Regions from separate parts of the Homo sapiens genome. Here regions 1 and 2 are each linked to region 3. The links are contacts of gene promoters, found by promoter capture Hi-C in blood cells and fetal thymus (Javierre and others, 2016). All regions are on one chromosome and are shown on one strand. The core of a region is centred on a gene start or on the middle of the fragment in contact, and the rest is flanking DNA. Distances in the headings are between cores, read along the strand shown. Region 1 overlaps DCDC2 (doublecortin domain containing 2). Region 2 holds the start of ATXN1 (ataxin 1). Region 3 holds the start of E2F3 (E2F transcription factor 3).

Evidence for each region. The method cuts DNA at HindIII sites, captures the fragments that hold promoters and counts their contacts. A CHiCAGO score of 5 or more calls a contact.
Region 1: a contact is called between a fragment that was not itself captured here and the fragment with the promoter of E2F3 in region 3, in 2 of 17 cell types (fetal thymus and endothelial precursors). The highest score is 8.1, in fetal thymus.
Region 2: a contact is called between the fragment with the promoter of ATXN1 here and the fragment with the promoter of E2F3 in region 3, in 8 of 17 cell types (naive CD8 T cells, total B cells, total CD4 T cells and 5 more). The highest score is 13.3, in naive CD8 T cells.

What each region holds. Positions count from the first base shown.
Region 1 is chr6:24,202,627-24,205,474 of GRCh38, reverse strand. DCDC2 (doublecortin domain containing 2) reads left to right here. Exons shown (of 10, transcript NM_016356.5): 8 at 373-473. Among named protein-coding and RNA genes, the nearest start is that of NRSN1, 78 kb to the right of the region's middle. The HindIII fragment of the contact is 3,786 bases long and covers 1-2,848 here.
Region 2 is chr6:16,759,507-16,762,709 of GRCh38, reverse strand. It overlaps ATXN1 (ataxin 1), which reads left to right and starts at 1,250. Exons shown (of 8, transcript NM_001128164.2): 1 at 1,250-1,412. It overlaps ATXN1-AS1 (ATXN1 antisense RNA 1), which reads right to left and starts at 1,572. Exons shown (of 3, transcript NR_136240.1): 1 at 1,544-1,572; 2 at 431-591; 3 at 1-358. RefSeq lists an enhancer at 1-796 and silencers at 797-1,116, 934-1,149, 1,157-1,316, 1,793-1,922, 1,993-2,472 and 1 more. The HindIII fragment of the contact is 4,299 bases long and covers 1-3,203 here.
Region 3 is chr6:20,400,088-20,403,143 of GRCh38, reverse strand. E2F3 (E2F transcription factor 3) reads right to left here and starts at 1,265. Exons shown (of 7, transcript NM_001949.5): 1 at 519-1,265. The coding sequence starts at 911. It overlaps LOC124901482, which reads left to right and starts at 372. Exons shown (of 3, transcript XM_047419652.1): 1 at 372-719; 2 at 764-875; 3 at 982-2,403. The coding sequence starts at 372. The coding sequence ends at 1,589. RefSeq lists silencers at 131-600, 1,451-1,690 and an enhancer at 828-1,352. The HindIII fragment of the contact is 2,252 bases long and covers 196-2,447 here.

The DNA.
Region 1 (2,848 bases), core at 61-2,560, 3.8 Mb before region 3:
AAAGCAGCAAGCATTTTCACTGTTTTGTGAATAGGAGGGGAGAACTGGGATGATACTTGTGAATTTCTTCTCATCTCAATGCCTGTACAAAGGGCTATGTTAGTAAATCAGTAGCCAAAGGGTGAACAGGAGCTTCGACAGAACTTTACCCTGCTGGGTCAGCCTTGTTTTGACCACTGAATGTTTTCTCAATGAAAATGTGGAACAACTGGGGGTGGTGTGGTGGTCGGAGGAGGGGGTGCACAAAAATACTATCAACTAAAAAGGGAATCCAAATGTCTATTAAAAATAAGCATTTGATTGTAATTCCAGCATTCAGCCACACGATGTCACAATTGGATTTTGATTTTCACTGTGTGTTTGTCTCAATAGATGAAGGCATTTTCAAAGCTGGAGCAGAGAGGTCTGAAACACGGGGGGCAGCAGAAGTCCAAGAAGATGAAGATACTCAGGTTGAGGTTCCAGTCGATCAGGTAATCTCCATGCCTTAAAAAATATGTGTAAGACAATTATAGTGTTTTTTTTCCAAGTTTTGTGTTATCTCCTACAAATTGTTCCTATACCTGTATGAATTAAACCCTCTAAGGTACTATGTGGCTGATCAACCTTAAAAACATAACAAAACACCATTCTTTCTCCTAGTATTCCTGTGAAGAATAGCCATTTAGACCAAGTCTTTTTAAATAACAGCAAATGGTATTTCCTTAATAAAGAGCATTGAAGAGCAAGATGGGATGGGATTAGGTATGAGATAAAGTGATAAAGTTTGATATAAAAAAGAGTATTGGTTTGGGATTTTCATCTGGAATAAAAGTACTTACCCACTTAGAAAAGCATTTTTAAAAAATTATACTTTAAGTTCTGGCATACATGTGCAGAACGTGCAGGTTTGTTACAGAGGTGCCATGGTGGTTTGCTGCACTCATCAACCCATCATTTACATTAGGCATTTCTCCTAATGCTGTCCCTCCCCTAGCTCCCCAAACCCTGACAGGCCCCAGTGTATGATGTTCACCTCTCTGTGTCCATGTGTTTTCATTGTTCAGCTCCCACTTATGAGTGAGAATGTGTAGTGTTTGGTTTTCTGTTCCTGTGTTAGTTTGCTGAGAATGATGGTTTCCAGCTTCATTCATGTCCCTGCAAAAGACACGAACACATCCTTTTTTATGGCTGCATAGTATTCCGTGGTGTATATGTTCCATATTTTCTTTATCCAGTCTATCATTGATGGGCATTTGGGTTGGTTCCAAGTCTTTGCTATTGTGAATAGCGCTGCAGTACACATAAGTGTGCATGTGTCTTTATAGTAGATTGGTTTACTATCCTTCAGGTATATACCCAGTAATGAGATTGCTGGGTCAAAGGGTATTTCTGGCTCTAGATCCTTGAGGTATCGCCACATTGTCTTCCACAATGTTGAACTAATTTACACTCCCACCAACAGTGTAAAAGTGTTGCTATTTCTCCACATCCTCTCCAGCATCTGTTGCCTCCTGACTTATTAATGATTGCCATTCTAAGTGGCATGAGATGGTATCGCATTGTAGTTTTGATTTACATTTTTCTAATGACCAGTGATGATGAGCGTTTTTTCTTATGTTTGTTGGCTGCATAAGTGTCTTCTTTTGAGAAGTGTCTGCTCATATCCTTTGCCCACTTTTTGATGGGTTTGTTTGTTTTTTTTCTTGTAAATTTTTTTAAGTTCCTTGTAGATTCTGAATATTAGCCCTGTCAGATGAATAGATTGCAAAAATCTTCTCCCATTCTGTAGGTTGCCTGTTCACTCTGATGATAGTTTCTTTTGCTGTGCAGAAGCTCTTCAGTTTAATTAGATCCCATTTGTCAATTTCGGCTTTTGTTGCCATTGCTTTTGGTGTTTTATTCATATGAAGTCTTTTCCCATGCCTATGTCCTGAATGGTATTGCCTAGGTTTTCTTCTAGGGTTTTTATGGTTTTAGGTCTTACATTTAAGTCTTTAATCCATCTTAAGTTAATTTTTCTATAAGATGTAAGAAAGGGGTCCAGTTCCAGTTTTCTGCATGTGGCTAGCCAGTTTTCCCAACGCCATTTATTACATAGGGAATCCTTTCCCCATTGCTTGTTTTTGTCAGGTTTGTCAAAGATCAGATGGTTGTAGATGTGCGATGTTATTTCTGAGAACTCTGTGCTGCTCAGTTGGTCTATATATCTGTTTTGGTACCAGCATCATGCTGTTTTGGTTACTGTAGCCTTGTAGTATAGTTTGAAGTCAGGTAGCATGATGCCTCCAGCTTTGTTCCTTTTGCTTAGAATTGTCTTGGCTATATGGGCTCTTTTTTGGTCCCATATGAACTTTAAAGTAGTTTTTTCCAATTTTGTGAAGAAAGTCAATGGTAGCTTGATGGGGATAGCATTGAATCTATACCTTACTTTGGGCAGTATGGCCATTTTCACAATATCAATTCTTCCTATCCACAAGAATGGAATGTTTTTCCATTTGTTTGTGTCCTCTCTTATTTGCTTGGGCAGTGGTTTGTCCTTCCCCTTGAAGAGGGCCTTCACATCTCTTGTAAGTTGTATTCCTAGGTATTTTATTCTCTTTGTAGCAATTGTGAATGGGAGTTCACTCATGATTTGGCTCTCTGTTTGTCTATTACTGGTGTATAGGAATGCTTGTGATTTTTGCACACTGATTTTGTATCCTGAGACTTTGCTGAAGTTACTTATCAGCTTAAGGAGATTTTGGGCTGAGATCTTGGAGTTTTCTAGATATACAATCATGTCATCCACAAAGACAGACAATTTGACTTCCTCTCTTCCTATTTCTATTTGAATACCCTTTCTTTCTCTTGCCTGATTGCCCTGGCC
Region 2 (3,203 bases), core at 1-2,500, 3.6 Mb after region 3:
CCGCACTGAGCGCCCTTAGTCTGGAGGCGCCTCCTAGTCCTCCAGGTGCCACACCTGTTGGCAAGGTGCACCCATCCGAAGAAGATTCCTTCGCGTGGAGGTCACACCTGGCGGCGAGACAGGCGGAGGGGCGGGGTGGTGGGAGTCGGAGACCGCACTGAAACCCTGAGTCCAGATTTAAGTTCCTCGTCGATTCTCGAGAACTGCCATTTGATGCTCCGGTTGCTTTCTCTGTCTCCTACACTGGTTACCTCATTTCCGATTAAATTAATGATCCGAAATTAGCTGCGAGAGGAGTGCGCGGGTCTCCTTTCCAGGCTAGAGCGGAGTAGTTCCATATCAAAGCCGATTTCCGGACCTGCGTGCGAAGAGAGAAAGAGGGCAGGGTCGGGCGGTCGCCAGCGTTCGCCGGCAGGAAAGGTGAGGGTACCTGTGCAGTCGGGGGACCCCTTGAAACTTTCCGGAGTTGCACGCAGAGGCAATCCCCGCGGCCCCCAGGCCTGGGTTCCGGAACGCCGAAGCGACGCCGGTTTGTGGCTTAACGTGCAGCTGATGATCAGAGTGAGCCCTCTCAGATGCTGCTCCGAGCGCCTGGGACCAAGGACACGTCGGGATTAGAATGGGCCGACCTCCCCTCCCCGCTGGGGTGTTGCATCGGCTCCCAGCTGAAGCCTGACAGCCCTTGGGGGAGTCCCCCAGGTTGCCTGAGTAGCGCCCCGTTGTCGTTCAGTCCCCTCCAACTAGGTGCAGGGACCCAGGGAGGCGCGCGAGGACCGACCCGTCACCGCTCAAATTACCTCATCGCCCAGCTCCCCGCCCCCTTCCCAAACCTGGAAGGAACCTTGCCCTCCGGTCCGCGTCTCCCCTCCCCCGCACCCCATCCCGAGCCACTCTTTGGGAAAGGTGCCCGCCTCCCCGGGCGGCGCGCAGCGAAGGGTTAAGGGCGCGGGCCGGCCGCCGCGCGGTGCGCTCGCCGTGCTCTGTGCGGCTCGCCGGGCCGCCCGCCAGAGGGTGCCCCCCACCCCCATGAAGTCGGATCCTTGAGCTGCGGCGGCGGCAGCCAACTGCTCCATATTTGGCTTCTATTACACATTTACATACTGGAGCGAGCGAGCGAGCGAGCGCGAGAGAGCGCGAGGGAGGGAGGGAGGGCGGGCGGGCGGAGGGAGGAGGGAGGGGAGGGGAGCGGGAGGAGGGGGAGGAGGAGGAGGAGGAGGAGGAGGAGAGAGCAGAGTATACCGCAGACATCATTTCTACTACAGTGGCGGAGCCGTACAGGACCTGTTTCACTGCAGGGGGATCCAAAACAAGCCCCGTGGAGCAGCAGCCAGAGCAACAGCAGCCGCAAGACATTGTTTCTCTCCCTCTGCCCCCCCTTCCCCACGCAACCCCAGATCCATTTACACTTTACAGTAAGTGACTATTTTTTTTTCCTCCTCCGATTCTTTCCCCCCTCCCCCATTCCCTTCTCCCCTTATTTAGATTAAAATCCCTCCTCCCCCGATCTCCCGAGAGGGGCAAAAGCAACAACCAGCAAACAAACCCAAAACCCCAATCGGCTGCACGGAAAACAGCTGGAAGAGGAGCGAAGGAAATCGACGCGTCGTGTTCTGTGTGTGTGCGTGTGTGTGTGTGTGTGTGTGTATGTGTGTACATACAACCGTCCCCGGCTCCAGGCTCCCGGGCCGACACCCCCACTCTGGGCGCAGGGGCGGCCGGCGGGGGGGCTGTCAGGGGCTGGGTGGGCGCCCGCCGGGCTAGGGGGCGCGCCCGGGCGGGGGGCGCGGGCGGGGAGAGCGGCGGCGGCGCCCCGCTCCCCCGGCTGCTGGTCCGGTCGCAAGTGCGGAGAGCCATGTCCTCCTCCCTCCGGGTGGCGCAGGGGGGAGGCGGCGGCTGGGGTTGGGGGGTGGTCCCTTTCCCGGCCGCCCTCTTCCCATTCCTCCTCCCCGGAGAGGGCGGTGAGAGAGAGGGGGTCTCACGGAGGGCTGGACTTCTCCGCGGGTGGTCGCCCGGCCTCGGCGCCCTGGGGCGGGGGTCTCCCCTCGGAGGGCCGGCCTCGCCGGGTGTGCGGCTGCGGGCGGGGAAGGGACTGCTCCTGCAGCCGGGACGGGACTTTGCGCGCGGCCGGGTGCCGGGCGGGGGGCGCAGAGGGGTGGCCTCGGGGACCGCGCGGGGGTAGCGGGTGTGCGGGTGCCTGGAGCGCGGCTGGAGTGGCGGTGACGGCCCTGGCCGCCGCCGCCACCGCCGCCCTGTTGGTGCGGCCGCTTCCTGATCATGTGCAGCGGCAGCCGCCGCCCGGAGCCGGGAGCCCGCGAGCGCCCCAGTCCGGGCCGGCGCCCCCGCCAGCACCCGCGGCAGGAGACGAGGAGCCGCGGCAGGCGCTGCCCTGAGCCGGGAGTGAACGGCTGCGCGGCTGCTGGGAGGGTGAATGAAGCCAGGAGGAGGGGAAGGAGGAGGAGGCGGCGGCCGCCGCGGAGGAGGCGCTGCGGGGATTGGGATGCGCCCTGGAGCCCCACTGCTCGTTCACTCTGGGCCGGGCCGGAGACTCTGCCACTCCCGGGGGCGCCGCCGCCTCCTCCTACGTGGTTCCAGTGCTGCGCGCAGGCCGGTCCCGCAGGGGGCAGGGAAGGGGGCCGGACGGGCGGAGCGAGAGGTGAGGCGGTGTCGGAGCGCGGCGTGAGTGTGAGTGAGTGTGTGAGTGACTGTGTGTGTGTATTTGTGCGCGCGCGCGCCGGGCGGGGGGCGAGGGCCGTCGCGACGCGGAGGGGGCCCTTCCTTGGCTACTTGGCTGACTCTGCAGCGCCCCGACCCCTCTTCAGCCCCCCGCCTTCAGGCTGCCTTCTTAAACTCCGTGGCTTGTGCTTTCATTTTGTTTCAGACCACGTAGGGGGCTGACTGAAAGGGATGAAACAATTCAGGTTTTCTAGGGAGATTGAGCAAGAACCTTAGTGGGGGTGGAAGTAGGGTGGTGATCGAGACTCTGCCAGAAAACAAAACAAAACAAAAAAAAATCCGTTTCTAAGGACGGCGGGGATTCGGTTCGAGCCCGTGGCTGCTCTGTTTTGTTTTGCTTTCTTGGTATATAATCCTACAGATAAAAGGGTAATATAAATATTTGAGAAGAGGGAAATTGCTGAAGAGTAGTAAGGGCAAAAAAAAAAAAAAAAAAAAAAAAAAAACAGTCGGAAGAAGCTGGTTATATA
Region 3 (3,056 bases), core at 16-2,515:
ATCCCCTGCGCTCCGAGCACGCCGCAGGGACCCCCGGCCGCCAACGAGCCTCCAAGGCCGACTGGGGGCTAGCACCCCAACAGTCCCCCGGTTTCAACCCCTCAGAGCCCCCCACACCCCAGTTCACTACTCCCTCCCCCACCCCCTTCTCCATCCGGGGCGTGACCCCTTCCTACGCCCGAGAAAGAGGAAGCTTCGAGTTGGAGGGGAAGGGAGAGTGGGGGTAGGGAAAAGTGCAGGAAAAGAAGGGGGGGCCGCGAAAAGTTTTGGAGTGTTTGATGTGGTTCGCGCCAAGGCAATCCCCGCCGCCCCGCGCGCCTGGCCGAGCCCCCCGACCCTCCTGGCGCCGGGAAGAGCACTCAGGTCTAACAATGAACCCTCGTTGGAGGGGCAGCCCCCGAGGCCCACGATGCTCGGCCCAGTGCTCTCCCCGAGCGGCCCGCAGCGCGCCCACGACCCCGCGCGGTGCGAGCCCACCTCCCGCCGGGGCTGGGGACGGTGGGGAGGGAGGGTATTACCGGAGGGCCGCCGCCGCCGCCGCTGCCGCCGCGTCCCAGCGCTGGTGGCTGCTGCAGCAGCCCGGCTCTGCTGGAGGGTCCGTGCGGCGTGGTGTAGAGGAGGCTGCCGGCGGTCTGCTCCGCGCCGGGGGCACTGGGGAGGAGGGGGCCGGCGGCTACGGCGCCGCTTTGGAGGGAGGAGGAACAGGAGGTGGTGGAAGTGTTCGTGGTGAGGATCTGGATGTACGCGCCCGGGGCGGCGGCAGCGGCGGCGGCGGCGGCGAAGCCGGGGCTGGCTAGCAGTGCCCTTTTGTCCATGGAGGCTGCAGCGGCGGCGGCGACGACAGCCGCCCCCTCCCCACCCCCGGCGGTCACCAGGTACTGCTCCAGAGCGGGCTGGATTCCCTTTCTCATCTCTCGCTCCTGCTCTTTTTAGTGTTATGGTATATTAATGTATTGTTTTCAATTTCTTTATTATTTGCAGTCGGAGTTTCCAAGTCTCTCCTCCTTCTCTCCTCCCCGCCCGGCGCTTCCGAGCCCCCTCTCTCTCTTTTCTTTTTATTTTTCCGCACCGCACAGGCCCCGGGGGCCAAAAATAATCGGGGCTCTGGAGAGAGGAGGGTCCCGGCCGCACGGATATCGGGCCCCAAGCGGGGATGGAGGCGTCGGGGGCGGCCGATGCAACGGATTGCGAGGCGGCGGCGGCAGCCCGGGTGCTGCGGCCGGCAGCTGAAAAATGGCTCCAGGAAGCTGCTGCTGACAATGAATGAAGGGATACGGTTTACGCGCCAAGGTCCTCCCGCGAAACTCGGATTTCCCGCCGGCTTTTCAAACCATATTTGCATATCCCCGCCCCTCAACCCGCCGAGGACCGTTCCCACAGCCCATTGGGCCGCTACCTCCTTACTTCAGTCCCAATCATGGAGCAGGGCCGCGACTTGCTGGTTTCCATTGGCTGCCGTGCATCATGGTTACCGGGGCGACAGGGACCCTATTTGCATAGGCCTCCTTGATTGGCTGGCAGAAGAGCAGTTTTTAGGGGGTGGGGCAAAGAATTTCCTTCTCTCCCACGGAAGACCACGCCTGGCCTAGGCTCCGCCCCTGTCCCCGCCCGCCCGCCGGGCCGGCGCTACTGACCTGGGCAGGGACTCCGCGCCCCGCAGACTCAGTGTAGATCTAGTCTAGAGCCCAAGTTTCGCTTTTGGAAATTGTCAAGGTGACTAAGGGAACACTCTTTCCTTTGACCAGTCAGTGCAATAAACGAACAGCGCAGGAGATTTTTCCAGATACGTGCCAAAGGCAAGTTGGACCATGCGGACGATGTCTGGCAGGTGCAAAAGGAGCCCTTTAAATCGTGGGCTTCTCCCTTCCTGAAATCCAACCAATGACGCGGCGAGAGCTGATCCCGAGGCCGGGGCTGATAGACAGAAGCATGTGGGCAGACAGAATCGTGGGGGCAGAAGGTTCAGCAGACGCGATTGCGGGCACCAGTTAACATTCCAGATCATTCCCGGTACCTTCATTATTAGCCTGGATAGGGGTAAAGTACAAATTAACTCTTTTGTCTTACAACGGATATTGGTTTGAATCCAGCAGACATTCCCTCTGGCCCAGAAACACCCAGGGCAGTTAATCAGGGCTAACCTAGAACTGATCTACGGGTTTCTAATCCGCCAAGCAGTAATCCGAAAAAGTACACGCTTCCCACGATGACGTCGTGCCCCCAACGAACGCAGGCACGCCCAGGCATCAGCACTTTATATCTTCAGTTTTGTAGGAAGTTCTCTGACTGGAAGCAAACACAACGACTCAAACCTATCCCAAAGTATTTTTAAAATAGTGTCTTTTTTTAAAAAGTAAACTAGAAATTGTCATCAGAAAAATATAAAATGATGTGTCAAACTGACTCCTGAATTTGTTCAAGTATTCATGGGTCTTAAAATTAAAGCTTGCTCCTGAGATTGAGCAGGAAAAGAGACCCCTGCAGGAATGTGGGGGAAGTTATGTATGTAGAGACTAGATCATAATTTATAGTTACGTGCAAAACAGCTGCAGAATTGGTGCTCATAGGTGATGAGGATTGCAACACCTTGAGCCCTTTCACAAGATTTTTATTACTATTATTAATTTCCCAAAACTCTTACTCAGAGTGCTATGAAACACCTGACAAGATGTGTCAGATCAGGCTAGGACTCCTTAATATTTTAGCCTTGTTACCTTTTCTGAAACAGATGAGTTAAAAGTTCCATTAAACCTTGCACCAGGCTCAGGAATATTTTAGTCTTGCATTCAGGCTAGTTGAGGATCCATAGCCCTAAACATTTGTCGACACTGGTAGAGGTGACACTATCTTTATTTTTTGAGACAGAGTCTTGCTGTTGTTGCCCAGGCTGGAGTGCCATGGCACGATCTCAGCTCACTGCAACCTCTGCCTCCTGGGTTCAAGCAATTCTTCTGCCTCAGCTTCCTGAGTAGCTGGGACTACAGGTACGTGCCACCACGCCCAGCTAATTTTTGTATTTTTAGTAGAGACAGGGTTTCATCATGTTGGCCAGGCTG